Regions from separate parts of the Homo sapiens genome. Here all the other regions are linked to region 1. Evidence: promoter capture Hi-C in 16 types of primary human blood cells and fetal thymus (Javierre and others, 2016). All regions are on one chromosome and are shown on one strand. Each heading gives the region's core, a stretch centred on a gene start or on the middle of the fragment in contact. The rest is flanking DNA. Distances are from core to core; before and after follow the strand shown.

Region 1 (3,155 bases), core at 421-2,920:
GTTTCAGAGTTAAAAAAAAAAAAAAAAAAAAAGGCCTTTGGTTTGCATTAAAGAAACCAATCTTAGCCTGAATTGACCAGAGGTGACCAAAATTATTTAAAACACATAGGTATAAGAATGTGGGCTCTGGAGTCAAACTGACTTCAAATTCCTGATTTACCTGCTAATAATTACATGACAAGTTAATGGATCTCCCTAAGCCTCAATTTCCTCTTCTGTAAAATGCAGATAATACCTATGAGCGTTAGTCTTGAGGCACAAGTGCTCAATTAATGTCAATTTGTAATATAATAAACTGGAATAGACGTTAGTGGTTAATACTTTCTCATTTGTCGGCCTTTCTCTATTTCACATCACAGCTGCATGTGTATCACACACTGCCCCCAGACTGAACTACATATAGTGCTCTCAATACTGGAAGATATTTTACACTTCTTAGAAATACTCTTCCCTTCCTGGACTCCTTAGCAAACTCTTACTACTCAAGATTCAGCCCACACATCTCTCATCTATTCGGTCACTTACTCATCATCCAACGTTTTTTTTAACACTCGCTGTAAATGGCATCCTCGTTCTGGAAACGCATCTACCAGCAATTAAAACATGTAGAATTAGCACTGCTTAGGAGAACGCCTATAAAATATGCATCTTAGATCATCTTCCGTTTTAGAAAATTGATCCCACCTGCTACACGCCTGGTGAAACTCCAGTTACTTGCCAGTAAGATATTGTCCCCCAAATGTACTTATCCTGTTTTTGTGCATTATAAGCTTTGTTCAGTTTATAGTTTCTAGGCCCATTACTAAAGTCAAGTCAGATATCCAGCTGAGATACAACTTTTTTTTCTGAAAACAATGTGAGCAATGGACAGGTACGCTGTGATTAAAGGGAGAAAAGCTGTAACGACTCCCCAAATTTCCTTTCCTTATGAAATTTACGTATGTAACAGGAAGTTAAAAAATAACTACCACTTAATGCATACTGAACAGAATCTTGTTTCAAAGAAAAGATATGAAATATGGAGGCACTTTCACCACACAAATATCCCACTACATATGCTAACTGCAGTATTTATGTTCAAAACTGTAAGAACGTGTCTGATACCCTTTATTAGTTAGGAATTCCTGAAAATGAACTTCTGTGCAAACCTGAAGCTTCAACACGTGTTTTAAAAAGCAGTGCTTATTGAATTGATAAACAAAAGCGAAACTGGCAATATCAACGTGTGCTCACCTCACAAATCTGACAACAGTATCTCTACACTGCCGTTCTTTAAACATCATTAAAAGATATTGTGAATAGTTTAAATATTAAAAATGTGGAATATAAGAACGATTCTATATATTTGAACACACATTTATATTCAAATATTCATATGAATAAAAATGCTTAAAACTACCCCTTGGGTAACTAAGTATAACAACATAAACTTGCGATTGCAAATTTTATGGCTCTTACTACAAAACAAAAAGTAGAATGAAAAGACCACTTATCTTTAGAGGACAAGCATGAACTTGTTTTCTAACAGCATAACAATAAACGTATTTATTTCTCCGAGCTTTCAAAGGCATCAACAGAAGGGAATCACTAAAAATGTAGGGGAAAAGAAACACTCGGCTGGAGCTTTGGTTTCTAAGCAGATCCTTCTGGAAAGACGCTTAGGGAGAGTCTAGGGAGCAGCTCTGACGTCAGTAGCTGCCATCGGAAGTCAGGTCATGTTCTACAAAAAGCAGTGACGCACGCCCGACAGCACCCGCGGGGCCGGACAGCGGCTTCACCAGCCCCGCGGGTCCGAATCGCACGCGGCCGGGTCCGCTCTCCCGGGAGGAGAGCCCGGCGTGGACCAGCGTGACGACCCCAGCGTGCTGCGGCCTCTCCCCGAGGGCCCCTCCACAAGGGTCCCTGCGCGGGCCGGGCTCGGCCGTTGCCACTCGGGACAGCCATCCCCTCGAGTTCGCGCTCGCCGTCCCCGCCTTCACCTCCCGGGTTGGGAGGCGGGCGACTGCGCGCGAGGTAAAGGAACTTGCGTTCCCCGGCGCCGAGGCGGCAGCAGCGCAGTGCACAGCGGCTTCTGAAGGCGGCGTCGACGGGGAGCTGCGCGTGGCTCCCAGTTTCCTGGTTACGTGCGCGCCGGCAGAGCCAAAACCTGCAGCCGAAACTCCCGCTTCTCCGTAAGGATTAAAGGGCGGGCGCACTACCGGGAGACGTGTCAAACTCAGCGCGCCTCATGGCGGCCGCGGAGCCCCACCCGCTCCTACTCCAGTCCTCTCACGCCCACTGACTTACCCTGCGCACGCGCGCTGAGGCTCCGTGGGGCCGCCGCGGGCCCCGCCCCGAGGTGGGAGGGCCTGACGCATCCACAGCTGGCCAATCGGCGGATGGCCTCGCGCGCCCGCCCCCTCCCCCTGCCCCCGGCGCCGGGCTCCACGTGCCAGTGTTTGTGTACGTGCGGCCGTGGCGGGGCTGGACAGGGTCCGGGTCGTTGAGGATTAGGCTGCTCGGGCGTAACCGGAGCTGGGGCGCGGCTGCCAAGGGCCGGCCCGGAAGTCCCAGCGGTCTTTAAATTCTCCCGTGCTAGGGCCAGCCTGCGCATTCTTACCTGTCGGGGTGCGGCGAGTGTCTCACCTCTCTGCACTTCCAAGGACTCTTGTCATCTGCCTTAGGCGGGAAATGCTGTTGCTGGATTGCAACCCCGAGGTGAGATTCGGGCTCACAGAGCCCGAGCTTTTGTCCTGCAGGCTCAAGCTTCTAGATTCGTCTTCTCGTTAATGCGGGGACGGACCACTGGGCGCTGCCTGGTCAGAGCTGGTTGTGAAGGGCGGGGAGGTTTCCAGCCCGGAGGGGCGCGGGACTGGACAAAGGTGGGAAGGGTGCTGGATCTGTTCTCTTCCTGCAGGTGGATGGTCTGAAGCATTTGCTGGAGACAGGGGCCTCGGTCAACGCACCCCCGGATCCCTGCAAGCAGTCGCCTGTCCACTTAGCCGCAGGAAGCGGCCTTGCTTGCTTTCTTCTCTGGCAGCTGCAAACGGGCGCTGACCTCAACCAGCAGGTAACTAGGTAACTGTTGCTGTGTACAGCCGTCCCCTCCAACCCAGACACACACAAACATTTCTCAGACGCCAAGAGTTGTTTCAGCTGTTAAAAACATGTCTATA
Region 2 (3,155 bases), core at 262-2,761, 350 kb before region 1:
CAAAAACATTGCATTAAGTATACACTTAACAGCACCAAGGAGAAATTCAAAGGGAAAAGGAAGTGCGAGTGAGCGCGTGCACACACACACAAACACACATGCACGCGCCTTCTAATGAGAGGTGAAAATGGACACAATCCATTTTATAATAAAGGACTGACAAACTAACACTTAATCCAGACCTCTGAAGCCACCTCTCAGACTATCCTTACTACCTTAACAGTCCAGCGTAGCCGTGGGTACCCAAGACCCCATCGCTGCTCTTGATTCTTGACCATCTTTCTCATGTGTCCAAACTAAATTCCTAGACAGCTGGCTTAAAACTATAGTGCTTAAGTTTTCCAAACGTGTTTTTAAATATTCAGTGAAATTCTTTTGGAGAACAACTTAAATAGTACTTTAAAAATTAGGTTATAAACCACAGAGTAGTTTTTAAAATACATGAACTATAGACCTTTGTCACTGAGGAGAAAGAATGAGGGGTCCAGGGTCTATATTGTGAGTTTTCGGGACAGGGTAAGAAGTCACTCCCTGTGAGGACAGAGTGGCCACAGAGGAACAGAAGAGTATTTCCTACTGGGGAGAAATCACAAGGGACACTGGTCTTGCTTGCCATGTTGTCCTTTGAGTCTTAACCCGGGACACAGGAATCAATGGTTAGCATTAATGAGTCATCAACAGCTCTCATTCTGAGGCCTAACAGAAAGCTAAGCTGTGAAGCCGTGGATAACCACACACAGGGACTCGGGCTGCTGATGGGCTTGCCAGGGCTAGGGTGGGATGTGAGGTCTTACCTTTGCTCCTCCTCTATCTACAAGTATGTCTGAATCACAGATGAGCGTCTGAGAACGCATCTTGAAACAGCTGTCACCTCTCCTAGAGGGGCTCATTTTTGGCATTGGGAAAACAGATTTTGGTGAGTGGCCGCAATGTCTTACAAATTCCCTGAAGTTCAGGGCCTTTTCTTGGTTTGTGATCAGTGTTTCCCAAAGAATACAGCTCTCTCCTCATGTCACTTCAGGATGACATGAGGATGACCTTTAAAATATTGTGAGTCCTACTTGTAATGGAACAATGAGACGTGGAATCGTGAAAGGAACTAGGATAAATATGTGACTATGTAGAAATAAGCTACTAGCTCTGTTTTATGCCATTGACTTTTCTATGTCTGAACACTTTTTCAAGGACTTTATAGAAAAGCAAATTGAAAAATAATAAAGTGTTTTCAATAAACTCCATCAAATGAATACATGCATAAATTATGCATAATTATAAATTATGATATTTAATTTTCCTTAAAAATTATCTATTTGTTCTCCCAAACTATATTATAATTTATTCGTTAGAAAAGCATATATTTTCAAAGAAAAACTGTAGTAAAGAAGGACAGTACAACATATTACCTTAAAAAAAACTCTTTAAACGATGTAAGCTTTCTTACCTCTTTAAAAGGAAGTACATATATTCCTGGAGGAGGCATCTGAAGTTCCTTTCATCTAGATCTTCAAATTCTTTTTTCTACTGCCTGATAGTGTTTGGAAACCAAATTTTTATTTATCTTAAGTAACTTTTGAAGAAAAAAAGAATAAAGGAAGCTTTACTTATTTTCTAAATACTGATTTAATTCAGTTTTAATAAGAGGAATCTGAGTATTAGGTTCCAATTTTTATGTGAATTACATAAAATATTAAAATTACCAGAAACTCCAAATTACAGTGATCTTGAAGAATTTAGAACAACCCAAGAAGTCAACATAGCTGTAGGATGTATTTCATATCAATATACTGGGCAAAAATTAGATATTATGTGTTCCTTTTTCTGTAATGTTGATCCAACTAAGTGTCACAATGAGTTAAGTAAAGCTAAGTCATGCCAGTTTGCTGGGACTTGATTTCCTCTTCAATAAAATGAGGGGTTTCAGTTAGATGATTCTTAGTTTTCTCCCAAGAGCTAACAATTAGAACTCTGGCCAGGTGCAGTGGCTCAAGCCTGTAATCCCAGCACTTTGGGAGGCAGAGGTGGGCAGATCACTTGAGCCCAGGAGTTCAAGACCAGCCTGGGCAACATGGAGAAACCCCATCTCTACAAAAACACAAAACTTAGCTGGGTGTGGTGGCTTGTGCCTGTAGTCCCAGCTATTTGGAAGGCTGAGGCAGGAGGGTCACTTGCGCCCAGGACGTTGAGCTGCAGTGAGCCATGATGGCACCACTGTGCTCCAGCCTGGGCGACAGAGTGAGATCTTGTCTCAAAAAAAGAAAGAAAGAAAGAAAGAAAAAGTACTCTGGCAACACAAGCATCCACCCCCAGTAGTTCTATTAAACTACATGAAACATAAAGGATCTACATGCTTAAGGGGCCTAGATTGCTCCCTAATTTTAGAACTAGATAGGTCATACCAGTATATAGCTAAGCCCTTCAAAGAATATGGTAGTGAGGGGAGAGCTGATGGAATTTGAAATGTCCCTTGGTGATAGAAACTCACTTGACAGCAACATAAACAAAGACTTAATAAAACAAGTAGTAAATTCACAGGAAGGAAGAGTAGCCCTAAAATTTACAAGTCTAGTAAGTCCCACACTTTCTGGGTTGATGGCTATCTCCTCCTGGCATATAGCTCAGTAACATATACAGTATCTGACAAAGATGGCCTCTGTTAGGCTCTTCTCATGTGCTAGAAGTCCTTATTATTGACCATACCAACCACCAGTAGAATAACAGACACAATGGTAATCCCAGCTATTCATTCCCGCACTGTTGGCTCTCGCCATACACAGGTAAGAGGGCTATGCAGAATGATTCTCCAGTGGTCAGGATTCGGATCCAAGGATGTGCTTGCCAAATTCCCTTGTCATTATGGAACTGAGGTTCAGAAAAGGACTCATAAGTTCAAAGTTGTTGTGGCCTCTGGAAGAGCACAGGGGTCTTTCCCCACTCACCCCCTCCCTTTGGGAGGGATAGGTCGGGACATTGCCTTTCACTCTGGCCCCCAAGGCATTTTATCATTCACTATAAGAGTGGATGAAATATTTATTCTGTTGAGTTAAAAGGTCTTGAAGTAAGTTATGTCTAACTGGGTGTTCACTGATGATGACAAATGTTGAGATGTTGGGTATGCTAAGAAATGATATGACAAATGGGAATACCCTAACCCTTTA
Region 3 (3,155 bases), core at 292-2,791, 260 kb before region 1:
AAAAATACAGTAAGTACAAATATTGGTCCACAAACTCAGCTGGGCAAGGCAACTTAATTTCTATTCAGACTCCATTCTGTCAAGCGGTGGAAATAATCCGGGTCCCCGTTTCTCTCCACTGCTGTCCCATGGATGACTAAGAAGGCGAGGAGAGGGGCGCGTGGTCCGGGTCTTCATCTGGCCGTGCTGGCACCCGCGGCCTGGCCCGCATTCGCTTCCGGTCTTCAGTCTGTGCTCCATCAAGGGTGTTCTTTCAAGGTCACACTTTCCTTTCTTCCAACCCTGAGGCTCTTCAGGCCTGGCTTGCTGTCAGCGGACTGTGGTGGCCTTGAAAAGGAAACGTTATTCTGCTGCTCCTGCGCCACATTGGAGACATTAAGAGCAGGAAAAGCTGAACGGGGCTCTCTAGGGACCTTCACTCCAGCAGGCTGCCTTCATTTTGCGGACTATGGACACAAGCAAATCCCTCAGGTACCAGGGATCTGTTCTCCGTCTCCCTCATTGCACTTGGATCAACCCTGCAAGGCTGCCTCTGCCCTGTGTGCTGAAACACCGCCCGGCCGTTTCTTCCCCTGCATCTGTGCCTCCCTGGGCTGCGCAGAATACAGGCCCCTCCTTCCCAGGGATCCACACGAGCCTCACATTCTTTGCTTTCTCTCTAACTTTCTTCCTTTCTCTCCAGGTTTGGGAAAACTTCATATAATCTTTGTAAGAGTAGCTGAGCAGGAAGTTTTTTGTTTTTATGGAGATGGAGTTTTCGCTCTTGTTGCCCAGGCTGGAGTGCAGTGGCGTGATCTCCGCTCACCACAGCCTCCGCCTCCCGGGTTCAAGTGATTCTCCTGCCTCAGCCTCCCGAGTAGCTGGGATTACAGGCATGCGCCACCACGCCCGGCTAATTTTGTATTTTTAGTAGAGACGGGGTTGCTCCATGTTGGTCAGGCTGGTCTCGAACTCCTGACCTCAGGTGATCCGCCCGCCTCGGCCTCCCAAAATGCTGGGATTACAGGCGTGAGCCACCGTGCCCGGCTGTGTGCAGAAAGCTTTTTGTTTTCCCTCAAGTATTCTACGAAGTCCACTGGGCTTGAGTTTTTTCTCTTCCTTTGGAAATTCTAATGCCGAGAATAGACTCTTACTTCCTCTGCTTCCTGAATGTTTTCTTTTTCCTGTGGCAGTGACACAGAACGTCTAGCTGACTATGAGGAAAGGGTCATGAGGTAAAAGAACGCATATGGAAGAAAACCCTTATTCATTAAAATAGCAAAATATTGTTCTTCAGTAGTACAGATGATAAAAAATAGTCTCTGATAACATTTGTTGCCTACTGATTTTAATAATAGAAATAAAGCATGTTTTTAAAAATGATTGATAGGATATGTGAAACACAAAACACTAGTTCAAAATGTGTTTAGAAAATGGACCCAGTCAGCTCCAGGTGAGTAACGGTTTTATTCACAGAGGTTGCCCGTGGGCAAAACTGGAAGATGCCAGCCTGGAAGGTGTGTGGTTATGGTCGGAAGGCATTATTATGCAAGCATAAACATTAGCTTCGTTGTGTTGTATGATACTCAATGTGCTTGTTGGACTCTTCAACAAAGTAAAGAGAGGTGCTAAGATTGGAAGTGGGAAAAGAAAGGTTCTGAATCTGTCTGGGAAGTGCACGGGGTCCGCCTGTGTCTATCAGGGGTGTGCTACGGGGGTCCCCCAGGCCTCCCTGCCTCCAGCAACCAAGAGGCCAACCTGAATCAGTTTCCCCCGGAAGCAGAGTGCCTTCTAGGAGAAGTCCCTCTGTCTTTTCTATGATTCAAGGGCTCCTCTGCCCCCTCAAATCACCTCCTTTAAATAATAAGGCGCCAAATCCTTCTAACAAAACTTTTTGTTTCACGAACATTCATAAAACGTAAAAAGTACAAGTTCCGGTGGAGGCAACACACTGAAAGTCACTCTGCTGGAAGTACAACCAGAACCCCCTCTTGGGTCCTTGTCCTTGCCAGGCTGCGTTGGAATTGCCTGTAGGCACCACAGCTATGTCTGTTCCTGGCATGTAAGCTTCTCCACATAGCCTGGGCAACATAGCAAAACCAGGAGACCACAGCAAAACCTGCAAATTAAAAAATATATATATCCGGGCATGATGGTATGTGCCTGTAGCCTCAGCTACTCAGGAGGCTGAAGCAGGAGGATCCCTTGTGCCTAGGAGTGCATGGTTTCAGTGATCTGTGATTGTGCCACCGTGCTCCAGCCAGGGTGACAAAGCAAGATGCTGTCTCTAAAATAAATAAATAAATAAATGCACATATAAATATCTTGATCCTCTTCGCTTAATGCTGAAACTTACCATGTGAACAAACACTAGTAGTGTGTTCTAATTCCTAATACTTTAAATGTACACTTGCACACAGGCATTATGTTATCACCACCATTAGCACATCCTTTATTGTTTTTCTTTATTCCTTGTCACTCTTACTCTTTAGCAACTTCCATTCTCTATTCCCAGTTTGGTAAGAGACTAAGTCTATAAGAGCTTCCACTAAAATTCCAAAAGGCTAACTTTCCACCCTGCTCTCATTTCTACATGGCCCTGTTCCCACCAGCATCTAAGATCCCATCCACGATTGAAAGTAGAGTTTCTTCTCATCTCCTAGATGCCTTGTCCATTCTCCTGCTGGAAGAAAGCCACTAAGTACTGGGTTGGGCGGGTGGACACATGTTCTGCCGAGCGCCATTCTCTCCCCTGCCTGTGTAAGTGATACCAGGATCTTGTGACCACAGGCAGCTCATGCTCCCGAGGGCATGTAAGGCCTCTCTTTTCTGAGAAAGTCCGTGGAAGCAGAGGACAGTGTATGAGTTTCCATGGAAAACCTCTTGTCAAGGATTCCAGCTATGACTCCTTCTATAGAACAGGATAACTGGAGAGTAGCCAAGGAGAAATATATCTCCCATTTAGAAAATATCCAAAACTCTGATTGGTAAAATTAAGTGTAACAAAGATGATACTACTTCCTGAATTCATATATTAATTAATATTTAATTTAGTTTAAATGTCTATTTAAAATCTTCTGGTGATGTTTAAACAATTGAACAACTTGATAGTAAAAATAAATCCAGACACATAAGCAGATAAAACTTTATTTTTTAAGTGATTGTAGAATCATATA

Evidence for each region. Contacts are between HindIII fragments. The CHiCAGO score rates a contact against its expected background, and 5 or more counts as called.
Region 2: a fragment that was not itself captured here is called in contact with the fragment with the promoter of LRP2BP in region 1 in 1 of 17 cell types (megakaryocytes); the score reaches 5.0 in megakaryocytes.
Region 3: a contact is called between a fragment that was not itself captured here and the fragment with the promoter of LRP2BP in region 1, in 1 of 17 cell types (naive CD8 T cells). The highest score is 5.0, in naive CD8 T cells.

What each region holds. Positions count from the first base shown.
Region 1 is chr4:185,394,254-185,397,408 of GRCh38, forward strand. It overlaps LRP2BP (LRP2 binding protein), which reads right to left and starts at 1,671. Exons shown (of 9, transcript NM_001377440.1): 1 at 526-1,671. ANKRD37 (ankyrin repeat domain 37) reads left to right here and starts at 2,588. Exons shown (of 5, transcript NM_181726.4): 1 at 2,588-2,697; 2 at 2,897-3,049. The coding sequence starts at 2,671. RefSeq lists silencers at 1,794-1,983, 2,204-2,573 and an enhancer at 2,104-2,173. The HindIII fragment of the contact is 1,591 bases long and covers 1,153-2,743 here.
Region 2 is chr4:185,040,011-185,043,165 of GRCh38, forward strand. No RefSeq gene overlaps it. Among named protein-coding and RNA genes, the nearest start is that of LINC02436, 10 kb to the right of the region's middle. The HindIII fragment of the contact is 163 bases long and covers 1,431-1,593 here.
Region 3 is chr4:185,137,192-185,140,346 of GRCh38, forward strand. No RefSeq gene overlaps it. Among named protein-coding and RNA genes, the nearest start is that of SLC25A4, 4.5 kb to the right of the region's middle. The HindIII fragment of the contact is 1,006 bases long and covers 1,039-2,044 here.